Linked DNA regions of Homo sapiens: region 2 is linked to region 1. Evidence: promoter capture Hi-C in human tissues and cell types (Jung and others, 2019). All regions are on one chromosome and are shown on one strand. The core of a region is centred on a gene start or on the middle of the fragment in contact, and the rest is flanking DNA. Distances in the headings are between cores, read along the strand shown. Region 1 holds the start of TTLL3 (tubulin tyrosine ligase like 3). Region 2 overlaps CIDEC (cell death inducing DFFA like effector c).

What was found. The method cuts DNA at HindIII sites, captures the fragments that hold promoters and counts their contacts. A contact is called where the count stands out against the background at its distance.
Region 2: a contact is called between a fragment that was not itself captured here and the fragment with the promoter of TTLL3 in region 1, in 2 of the 25 tissues and cell types used here (IMR-90 fibroblasts and mesenchymal stem cells).

What each region holds. Positions count from the first base shown.
Region 1 is chr3:9,806,835-9,812,519 of GRCh38, reverse strand. TTLL3 (tubulin tyrosine ligase like 3) reads right to left here and starts at 2,258. Exons shown (of 14, transcript NM_001387446.1): 1 at 2,126-2,258; 2 at 1,811-1,899. The coding sequence starts at 1,858. The region is part of intron 4 of ARPC4-TTLL3 (ARPC4-TTLL3 readthrough); the gene reads right to left. It overlaps ARPC4 (actin related protein 2/3 complex subunit 4), which reads right to left. Exons shown (of 6, transcript NM_005718.5): 6 at 5,419-5,685. RefSeq lists a silencer at 2,077-2,556 and an enhancer at 3,037-3,186. The HindIII fragment of the contact is 8,240 bases long and covers 1-5,685 here.
Region 2 is chr3:9,863,432-9,869,116 of GRCh38, reverse strand. It overlaps CIDEC (cell death inducing DFFA like effector c), which reads left to right. Exons shown (of 7, transcript NM_001321142.2): 7 at 1,821-2,403. The coding sequence ends at 1,983. Among named protein-coding and RNA genes, the nearest start is that of CIDEC, 14 kb to the left of the region's middle. RefSeq lists a silencer at 4,738-5,032. The HindIII fragment of the contact is 3,135 bases long and covers 1,915-5,049 here.

The sequences.
Region 1 (5,685 bases), core at 1,009-3,508:
TTTTTTTTTTGAGACGGAGTCTTGCTCTGTTGCCCAGGCTGGAGTGGCACAATCTTGGCTCACTGCAACCTCCACCTCCCGGGTTCGAGCGATTCTCCTGCCTCAGCCTCCCCAGTAGCTGGGAGTACAGGCGTGTGCCACTGCGCCCGGCTAATTTTTGTATTTTTAGTAGAGACAGGGTTTCACCATATTGGCCACGCTGGTCTTGAACTCCTGGCCTCAGGCCAAGGCCCGCCTTGGCCTCCCAAAGTGCTGAAATTACAGGCGTCAGCCACCTCATCTGGTGCCCAAATAATTTTTATATTTTTTGGTAGAGACTGGGCTTCACTGTGTTGGCCAGGCTGGTCTCCAACTCCTGGCCTCAAGTGATCCTCCTGACTTGGCCTCCCAAAATGCTGGGATTACAGGTGTAAGCCACCGCGTCTGGCCAATACTATGCATTTTTATTAGATACTGTTATCTCCATTTTACGGGCTATGAAACAGAGGCATAGAGAAATTAAGCAGGGTGCCTGAGGCCCCATAGTGGTTAAGCAAAAGAGCAGGGATTTACATCCTGGCAGTTTGGCTCCAGAAACTGCATACTTAATGGGATCCAGAGAAACTACTTAGAAATACATGGTCAGGGAAGGTTGAAAGGAAGCCATGAATGTACAGAGCTGGGAAATGGCGGTTCAGGCAGAGGGGAATGCATGTGCAAAGGCCTTGAGGCTGGAGAGAGGTCAGAAGGAACTGAAGGGAGACCAGAGTGAGTGGAACATGGAAAATGATGGGGAAAGCCCCAGAGGAGGTAGGCAGTGGCCAGACTGTGGAAGGCCCTGCAGGCCTTGGAACGGACTTGGATTTCATACTAAGAGTGTCATGAGCAAAAAAGGCTAACTGAGGGAATCTTTCTAAGCTTGGCTTGCTGCTGTATTACAAAAAGATGAGGGGACAGGATGGAGGTAGACCAGCTAGGAGGCTGTCATAGTTTGCCTAGGAGAGAAATCACAATTACTAAAATGAAGGTGGTTACAACACAGACGGGAGAAGGTGCTAGAGTTGAGAATCGTTTTGGAGGTGGAGATGACAAGTGGTTTTGCTGATGGAATTAGACCTGTGGGTGAAGAAACAGAAAGATGAGATTTCTGGCGTGAGGAACTGAGAGATGGGAAAGACTGGAGACTGGGGAGGACGACAGGTTTGGGCAGGAAGATCAAAGTCTGGTTTGGGACATGAATTTGAAATGCTTGTTAAGTTTTCTGGGTGTAGATGACAGGTAGGGGCTAGATCTACGGGATGTGGAGTTCGAGGCTGGGCTGGAAGGGGCACGGAGAGGGTGCAGCACACTGACTGGACTCAGCCAAGGACACAGCCAAAGGAGACAGACCTGGGGAAGGGGCCAGGGGGCCACTAATGGCTGAGGAACCTTTAAAGGCCGCTGAAAAGCAGCAGCCAAAGAGGGAGAAAGGAAAACTAGGAGCGTGCAGTCAGACAGCCAAGAGGAAGGGTGTGTGGGGCAGCGGTGTCGAAAGATACAGGGTGCCCAACCGAGATCAAGACCGAAAGGCACTGCTGGGTTTGGCTCCCTGGAACTCACCAGGCACCTTGATTAGAGTGGGACATCGCAGGGAACCAGAGTGGAGGGAGCCCAGAAGTTTGGTGCTGAAGGGGTAAACGGGGAGGTAGTTGAAGATGGGTGTGGTGGTTGAGGATTTTTGCTATTGTTTTTTCTTTTGCTTTTGTTTTTTAAGGATATAAGAAAACAGCGCAGGGAGACAGGCTGAGCCGCTCCCAGGGCCCTTTCTAAGCGCCCCTGCCCCTCCTCTGACCTTGACAGCTCTCTCCACGTAGATTTTGGCGTTTCTGAGCCGGTTCATGTGAGACGCCTTGGAGGATCCTCGCCAGAGGACCGGGAAACCTGCAGAAAGATGCGGAATAGGGGCGGGGTACACTGAGGCTGGGCCTAGGGTCTCGGCCTAGGATCTTTTCTGGCCGCCCATAGCCACGCCTCTTTTCTTCCTCCTGCCTTCATCCAGATGCCCACCCTCAGCCGCTCTTCTCCCGACCCCCAGTCCCTCCACCCCAGCGTCTTGTCGTCCTCGCAGCCGCTGTAGGCCAGAGCGAGCGGGCCGCACGGGCCTCACCATCCTGCGGAGAGGGGTCGAGGACCGGGGTGTGCGGGGGGCCGAGGGGGTGGGTATCCGAGGCGCCCTGGGCGTGGGTGCCTGGGACCAGCGTCTTGAAGGCGCCGCTGAGGCGGCGCGCAGGGGCGGGGCTGCCCGCCTGGCATCTGCCGCCTGCGTGACCCTCCTCGGACTGGGCGGAGGCAGGGCCGGCCCATGGCAGCCTCCTGGGTGGACGGAACTCGGAGCGGCGCGCCGAGGGGAAACTGGTGCGTGGCTCGAGCGGCTGCGGCTTCCGCAGCCAGTTGCACACCGCGCCGCCCTCCTGGCGGTACCAGGAGGCCGAGCCCCGGCGCCCGGGCCCCAGCTCCCTCGCGCTCAGGAGCAGTGGCGCGTCGGGGCCCTGCATGCGCCCCTCGCCGCGCTCGCCCTCCCAGGGCCCCTGATCCCGCGCCCCTCCGCGTCGCCGCCTCCTCTCCCGGGAAGTTCCTGCCTAGGCTCGAGCCTTGTCCTCCGTTCCAAGCCCCGCCCCGTTTGCTATTGCCTTGGAAACCATTCCCTGGGCACCATCAGACCGCTCGGGGCTGGTTGGGGGCTGCGATGGGCCCCGGGGCAGTCGAGCGAGGGCTTCCTTATGACCTGGGGCCTCACCCAGACCCTTGATGAGCAGGGCACTGAAGGCGGAAGAGAGCACTGAGCCCCAGTTAGTTAGTGTTGCGGTTCCTTATCCAGTACTTCCTGGTGCCACCGGCCCTAGGGTTTGAGTGATTCCACAGTATTTATAGGCGCTAACAAATGGCCCCTGACCTCATGGAGCTTACTAAAAGCCCAGTGTGAGGGGAATAAAAAGCAAGTAACAAAGGAAGAGAATAGTTTACAGGTATAATAAGGGCAATGAACAAGCAGAGGTGAAACCAGGAAGGGGGCGCATTTTAGATAAAGTGGCGCATTTAAGCTGAAGGTGTAAATGCCAGGAGTCAGGAGTCACCAGGGAAAGGGGAGGAACTGCACTTCAGGGAAGGGACAGTCCCAGCAACAGCCCTGAGAAGGGTAAGAACCTCTGTGCGAACTACAAGACAGCCAGGGTGGCTGGAGCCTGGTGAGGCCAGATCAGACCTGCTGGGCCTGGCAGATGGGCCTAGGGTAAGGTCCTTAGCGAGGGCAGCATATGGGGGTAACAAGAAGGTGCAGAGCACACCCTCCCCAGAAACTGGAAATGGAAAAACAATCATTTGAGTCAACTGCGAAAGAAATGTAATAGTTCACAACAGTTATGCCTGGCCCCCAGGCTAAGACTGTAAGCAACCTTTTTGGAAGCACTGGCAAAATATTATCCTCAAAAGTCACAGGGGAGGTAAGGCTCCAAGATGTTAAACAATTTGCCTCAAATCACAGAGCAGAGGCAGCACTGGAACCCAGGTCTGACTCCAAAGCCTGTCTCTTAAACACCTGTTATCACTCAGGTTGCCTGCCAGTCACAGAAGGACCACACAGGGACAGTTTGAGAGGCAAACTCTAGCAGTGCCCCCGCAGGCAGAGTCGAAGAGTGTCCTGGTAAGAGCCCAGCTTTGTCAGTCACTGGGTAGATGTGCTCTTAAGAGTGAAGGTGGATCCCCCACCTTCCTGTCCAGCTGACCCCAACTCCCCTTTAGCTGATGGCTGGACTTCCCGAAAAGCATGCCCCCCAGGAAAGGTGATTTAGGGAATTTGGACCCTGGGAGAGAGATACATGACAAATGAGGTTTGTGGCTGGCTCACCCAGGCAATGCTGTCCTGTGAGGGTTGTTGAGTGACCAGCTGCTATATCCTATTAGTCACCCAGTTTCACTGTGAGCACCTTTAACATTCACTGCAAAGCTAGAACATAGCCATGTGCCCTGGAGGAGGGAACACCTAATTCAGAGGGGTGGCGAGGTAGGTCACAGAGGTAATGTCATAAAGGAGATGATAGCACTTTGGGAGGCTGAGGCGGGGGGATCACCCAAGGCAGCCGAGGCAACATAGTGAGACCTAAAAAAAAACAAAAACCAAAAACAAAAAAATTAGCTGGGCGTGGTGGCACAGGCCTGTGGTCCCAGCTACTCAGGAAGCTGAGGTGGGAGAATCACTTGAGCCTGGGGAAGCTGAGGCTGCAGTGAGCCATGCTTGCGCCACTGCACTCCAGCCTGGGTAACAAAGCGAGACCCTGTCTCAAAAATGAAAAAAAAAAAGGGGGGGGGAGGAGGGGGGCAATAGCTGTTCCAAGTTGCCCTTACCCCCTCCTCCCTTTAACATCACCTTGTCCACCCCATCAGAAGAAACCCCTCTGGCCATCTGGAGGAATCCCTTTTGAAAGCTCAGCTCAAAGGTTCACCCTTCTTGAAGCTTACCCTGACACCCACTCCTATATTTACCCCTTGGCCCCCAGACTTCCAATATTAAATATGAAACACTTCAGTGAACCTTTTACACACCCAGCCCTTTTCCTGGACCTCCAAGCCTCAAGGCAAGGATAAACATCATGAACACTGGAAATTATTCAACAGCCCAGCCACTGGGCTGGTGGAAAAAATATAGTTCAGTCAGTACCTGTGTAGCAGCGACCGTATCAGATTGTTTATATTCATTATCTCCACTTCATAGACTAAGAAACTGAGACACAAAATAGAAGTAACTTAGCCAAATCTGGCAAGAAGAATCAGGACTCAAACACAAGGGTCTTTTGTCTTTTTACTTCAAGGTGTTACTAAGGTCTAGTACTATCCAATGGAACTTTCTGCAATGATGGGAATCTCTATGTATGTGTTGTATATGCTGTATGTCTATATATGCTGTTATATATGGTACAGTCACTGGTAGCTGTTAAGTTGCCAGTGGGACTGGGGAACTGGATTTTAAACTTTATTTAATTGTAATAATTAAAATTTAAATAGCCACTTGTGGATGGTGATTACTGTTTTGGCACAGGCAAAAGTCTACTCTCTTGCTCACTGGCTAGATTTGGGGCAAGCTATTACATCTCATGTTTGGAACCTCAGTTTCCTTATCCACCAAATGGGAGCACTGTTTCTCTGAGGTTACTTTTTAGCCCAAGTAAGTTCCTTATGTGAAAAGCACCAAAGCTCTGTATAGGCAGACAGAGCAGTTTCAGAAATTAATGGTGCCTGGACTGCAATGAATGGAGTCTCTGGGTTGGGACCCCTGGCAGGAATAATGGCAGGACCAATCATGAGACTGCACCCAGTGGGGAGCTCCAGGCACAATTACCAGCCATCTGGTCTCAGGGAAAAGAAGCCCCACCTCCCCTCCTTTCACACACACACACAGCATAGACCTCATGCAGCCCCAAAGGGGCAAAAAGAGACTTTAATTAGGGGAGGGAGGATCCACCAGAATCAGAAAAGGGACAGCTAGCGTGGGAGCAGAGGAGCCAGAACAGGCAGGAGGAGGGCCCGGCCAGGAAGCTCTGGAGGACTCACCTCGCCACCTCTGGCACAGGCACTGGCACTGACGGACAAGGCGAAACAGCGGCCCCTCTCAACTGGGAGGGCACCCAATGGCCCCTGTAGCCAGAGGTTGCCCGGCTTTTGGGCCCCAGGTCC
Region 2 (5,685 bases), core at 2,233-4,732, 55 kb before region 1:
CAGCTCTCACCTGGGATCCCAGCACTTTGGGAGGTCAAGGCAGGAGGATCTGTTGAGCCCATGAGTTTGAGACCAGCCTCGGCAACACAGTGAGACCCTGTCTTTATCACACGCCCGTGTGTGCGCACACACACACACACACAAAATGCTGGCAGTGGTAGTATGTACCTATAATCCCAGCTAGGTGGGAGGATTGCTTGAGCCCAGGAGTTTGAGGCTGCAGTGAGATATGACCATACTACTGTGTACTCCAGCCTGGGCAACAGCATGAGACCTTGTCTCTAAAACGAAGAAAAAGAGAGATAAATGTATACATACAAAATTGGGCTTTTTCCCCTGTGGGAATGGGAGGGATGAAATAATCTTCCCTCCATATGACAGAATTAATTTGCAAGTCTTATGGACCAGAGTCATTTGTACTATATAATGAACTTTTCTTAAAACTTATTTTTGAAAGTCTAACCAAATGTCTCAAGAAGCATGAGAATATGTGAGGTTAGAACCCGCTCCCGCTTCCCCATTTCCCCTACTTTCCAAACATCCAACCCCATGTTAATTGCTTTATGCTATTTCAGCCTTATGACCCTGGGTGGCAGGTGCAATCCCATTTTACCCATGAGGAAGCTGAAGCTCAAAGCTAGAGCAGTTTGCTGAAGTTCACCCAGCTAATAAGACTGGATTAGGACTTAGGCCTGCCTGATTCAGGTTCTGTTCTCAGTACATGCTCATGCCAGGCATGGATGTCTTCATGTCCAGCACTCTGAACATGAGCTAGACTGCAGGTGGCTTGGACAGGCCTCAGAGTCTAGAACAGAGTGTCTCAAGGTGCAGAACCATGTTATGGAGATTAATCTGGTTGGTCCAAAGTAGTAGTAGAAAAATAAAAGCCTTATGAAATGAGCTGGGGTTTTGCATGAGAAAGTAGGGAGGTTCCGGGCATCTCAGTTAAGGTGGAATTGCAGGTCCTCGCACTAATCTTGATCCCATCTGCAGCATCTGTTCCTATTTGCACATCGCTCTAGAATTGATGAAATGCTTTTAGTGCTACCACCTCAGTGGTATTCAAATGTTATTAATGAAGAAAACAAACATAATGAAACCAATCCCTTCCAGGCCAGCATGGGAATAAGGGGGTGCAGGGAGGGGGTACACTCTTGTTTTTATTTATTATGTATTTATTTATTTTTGAGACAGAGACTCACTCTGTCACCCAGGCTGGAGTGCAGTGGCACAATCTCAGCTCACTACAACCTCTGTCTCCCAGGTTCAAGTGATTTTCGTGCCTCAGCTTCCCGAGTAGCTGAGATTACAGGTGTCTGCCACCACGCCCGGCTAATTTTTTGTATTTTTTAGTAGAGACGGGGTTTCGCCATGTTGGCCAGGCTGGTCTCAAACTCCTGACCTCAAATGATCCACCCACCTCGGCCACCTAAAGTTATAGGATTACAGGCATGAGCCACCAAGCCCAGCCTTGTGTTTTTTGTTTGATTGTTTTTTGAGACTGAATCTTGCTCTGTCACCCAGGCTGGAGTGCAGTGGTGCCACCTCGGCTCACTGTGACCTCCGCCTCCTGGGTTCAAGCGATTCTCCTGCCTCAGGCTCTGGAGTAACTGGGATTACAGTCACCCACCACTATGCCTGCCTAGTTTTTGTATTTTTAGTAGAGACAGAGATTCGCCATGTTGGCCATGCTAGTCTCAAACTCCTGACCTCAGGTTACCCGCCCTCCATGGCCTCCCAAAGTGCTAGGATTACAGGCGTGAACGCCATGCCCGACCTACTTCGTGGTTTTGACTTGCGTGCCCTCTCATTCCACCCAGGGAAGCTTTCCGCTGGGCCCTCTTCAGCATGCAGGCCACAGGCCACGTACTGCTTGGCACCTCCTGTTACCTGCAGCAGCTCCTCGATGCTACGGAGGAAGGGCAGCCCCCCAAGGGCAAGGCCTCATCCCTTATCCCGACCTGTCTGAAGATACTGCAGTGAAAGCCCAAGTCCTTGGAAGCTTTCCCCAGTGAAGGACTGACTGGGGGCCTCACGCTTAACTGGTAGTGCCCACAAGCCTGGCAGCTGTAGAGCCGCGAACCTCCCCACACCTCCCTCACCGCGCAGGACCCTGAGTGAGGAGGAGGAGCTGGAAACCTGGGGTGGGTTGGCCAAAGGAGAACCTCAAGCTCCTGGCCTGATCCAGCTCCTTCCTGCCCAAGGCAGCTTAGCCCATCCAGACTGGTCCTGAAGTCTGTCCCTCCATTGGCATGAAGTCTGCCCCTTAGCAATCTGGCCTCGCAGGCTGTACTTTCATGGTGCTCTCTACCTTCTGGCCCCCATCCCGGAACATTCCTGAGTGAATTCGCAAGCGCACTAGCATGTGATATTAGGGAGTTTGCAATAAATTATTGAGGCTGATGTATCTTCTTTGCCTGTGTTCTTTGGGGTGGGGTTTTATCTGGAAGGTTGGAGGGGGCTAAAGGAAGAGACGAATCTATTGTCAAAGTATTCTCTTTAATGTAGGATTACAGCTAATGGCACTTTTTCTACCAAAGAAGAAAAAAAAAAACAGCTGGGCACAGTGACACGTGCCTGCAGTCCCAGATACTCAGCAAGCTGGGGTGGAAGCATCCCTTGAGACCAGGAGTTCAAGGCCAGGCTGGAGCACAATAGCAAGACCCCAGGCTCCTTAAAAAACAAAATTGCAGTTGATTTTGAAACTAAAGTCAGCTGAATTTGAGGCTTGAGCTGACCATGTAATTGATACCATAAGTAACAATTTCCTAATTAAATTCACCTATCAGAGGAGCTTCAATTGAGCAGGTGGGATTAAGTCACTCTTCTAATTTCTCAGTGTCCCATTTTATAATAACCGTTTAAGTGGTTAGGTGAAAAAGTACTACTCAAGCTGTAAGGCATTTCTCCATCAATGCCCATCCTAACTTGCCAGACAGCTTATCTTTCATGTTCAGGACTTTCAACCTCGGGATTTCAAAGTGGGCTCATAGGTAGCCCCAAAGAGTAGGAGCTTCTCATCAGTGTGAGCTGGCATTTTCCAGTATTGGACAACTCAAGACAAGCATGAAAGGCTGAACTTAGGCTGGGCATGGTGGCTCACGCCGTAATCCCAGCACTTTGGGAGGCCGAGCCAGGCAGATTACCTGAGGTCAGGAGTTCAAGACCAGCCTGACCAACATGGTGAAACCCGGTTTCTATTAAAAACAAAAAAATTAGCTGGCCAGCATGGCAGGCGCCTGTACTCCCAGCTGTTTGGGAGGCTGAGGCAGTAGAATCGCTTGAACCTGGGAGGCAGAGGTTGTGGTAAGCCAAGATCGTGCCACTGCACTACAGCCTGGGTGACAGAGCGAGACTCCATCTCAAAAAAAAAAAAAAAAGGCTGAACTTGTAGAACTTGTAGGTGACTGTTTTATTTAGTCTGTGACTGAAAGATTTAAAAACTTGGCCAGGTGCAGTGGCTCATGCCGGATATCCCGGCACTTTGGGAGGCTGAGGCAGGAGTATCGCTTGAGGCCAGGAGTTCAAGAGCAGCCTGGGCAACATAGCCAGACCCTGTCTCTACACTAGATAATAAAAAAAAATTAGCAGAGCATGGTGGCTGTAGTCCCAGCTACTCAGGAGCCTGAGGCAGGAGGTTCACTGGAGCCCAGTAGGTCGCGGCTGCAGTGAGCTATGATTGTGCCACTGCACTCCAGCCTGGGCAACAGAGTGAGAGCCTGTCTCTGGGAAAAAAAAAAAAGAGGATTCAAAAACTCTATCACAGCCAGCCGCAGTGGCTCACGCCTGTAATCCCAGCGCTTTGGGAGGCCAAGGCGGGTGGATCACAAGGTCAGGCATTTGAGAGCAGCCTGGCCAACATGGCCAAATCCCGTCTCTACTAAAAGTACAAAATATTGGCCGGGCATGGTGGTGGGCACCTGTAATCTCAGCTACTCGGGGGGCTGAGGCAGGAGAATTGCTTGAACCTGGGAGGTGCAGGTTGCAGTGAGCCGAGATTGTGCCATTGCACTCTAGCCTGGACGACAGAGTGAGACTCCGTCTCAAAAAAGAAACAAACAAACAAAAAACGAAAAACAAAACAAAACCTATTGTTTCACTACTCTTACTATAAAGCCTATTTGGATGTAGTAAATACTAAGGCAAAGGCCTATATTACCAAAGATGGTCTGGGAGCTATTTATGGCAGCGGACCCAAACCCTGCAGCCTATGGGCAAAGCGGCTGAAGCTCGCTGAAGAGGGCCTGCTATTCCGGGCTCTCCTGCTCTTTTGCAGTTATGGCTGGAGGCTGGCCCGGTGCCAGGCTGGCTCCATGGGGTGGGCTGTCTGGCAGGGAGGCCTGATGTTTGTATTAGCACAGAAGCTATCCCAGTCCACCCTTGATGAAGCTGTGGCGGGGCCTACCTGCTCCTTCCGTAAAGTGCTCAGTAACAGAGTTGGAGTGGGGGTGGGAGGCTCGGTATTTGTCCCAAGCTTCCCTCCTCCTGAGATCCGGAGTTTCACAAGTGAATCTTGAGCAACTGCCCATGGTCTCTTGGCATTGAGCCCAGGGAAAACAAGGTTCTTTCTTTTCTTCCAGGAGCTCGAGGCTAATGGAGTCAAAGCAGCTGTGGTCAGTGAACAGAAAAGGCAGCCTCTGATGAGGCTTGGGGGCTGGGGAGGGAAGATTCCAAACAGCAAAGGAGTTTGAGCCTCTGTAGGGCCTGGCGGTCCTAGTGGGGGAACGGCCTTTCCTGGGGCCCCCCGCACAGCCAGGAGCAGCTGTCGTCAAGGTGGACTGTGTCCCAGCCCCTCCAGCTCAGCCTTTTCATCTGTTCAAGCTGGTGCTCGGGAGTGCACAGGATGCCTTTCAGAAGAATTCTAAATCCCGGGGGCCTGTGATGCCACAGTCACATGTCTGAGCCCAAAACAAGAGAACCACTTGTGTTTTTGCCACTCTTCTTACCAGCGATGCCCATATTTGTGCATATAATTTTTTTTTTTTTGAGACGCAGTCTCACTCTGTCGCCTGGGCTGGAGTGCAGTAGTGTGATCTCGGCTCACTGCAAGCTCCGCCTCCCGGGTTCATGCCATTCTCCTGCCTCAGCCTCCCAAGTAGCTGGGACTACAGGCACCCGCCACCACGCCCAGCTAATTTTTTGTATTTTTAGTAGAGACGGGGTTTCACCGTGTTAGCCAGGATGGTGTCGATCTCCTGACCTCGTGATCCGCCGGCCTCGGCCTCCCAAAGTGCTGGGATTACAGGCGCAAGCCACCGCGCCCGACCCATATATGTATTTTTTGTGGGGTGGGGGAAATACTGATTCTGAGATGTGTGCTGCCTGGAATCCCATGGCCACCGTGACCAGGGTTGTAGGGGGCCCAGGGGCCCAGGGTCTTTGATGTCAGCCGCATCTCCTGGCCAGCATTGACCCAGGGGTCCCACGTCAGCTGGTTTAGTGGGGGCCGCTCCCTGGGGTCGAGGCTGAGGAATTGTTTTACTAGTGTTTCCAGTGGAAACGAAGAAATAGGTGGAGAGTCATACTGTCACATAGCCTGAGGCGGGAAGGGACCACGGGTGGGGCTGGATGTTCTTTCAGCCTCCCTGGCAGAGATCACTGACAGAGTGGTCAGCTTGGCCAAGCTTCTGCGGTGGATGGCTCTGATGTAGGGGAGGGAGGCAATCCCCAGAGCAGGAATGGGTT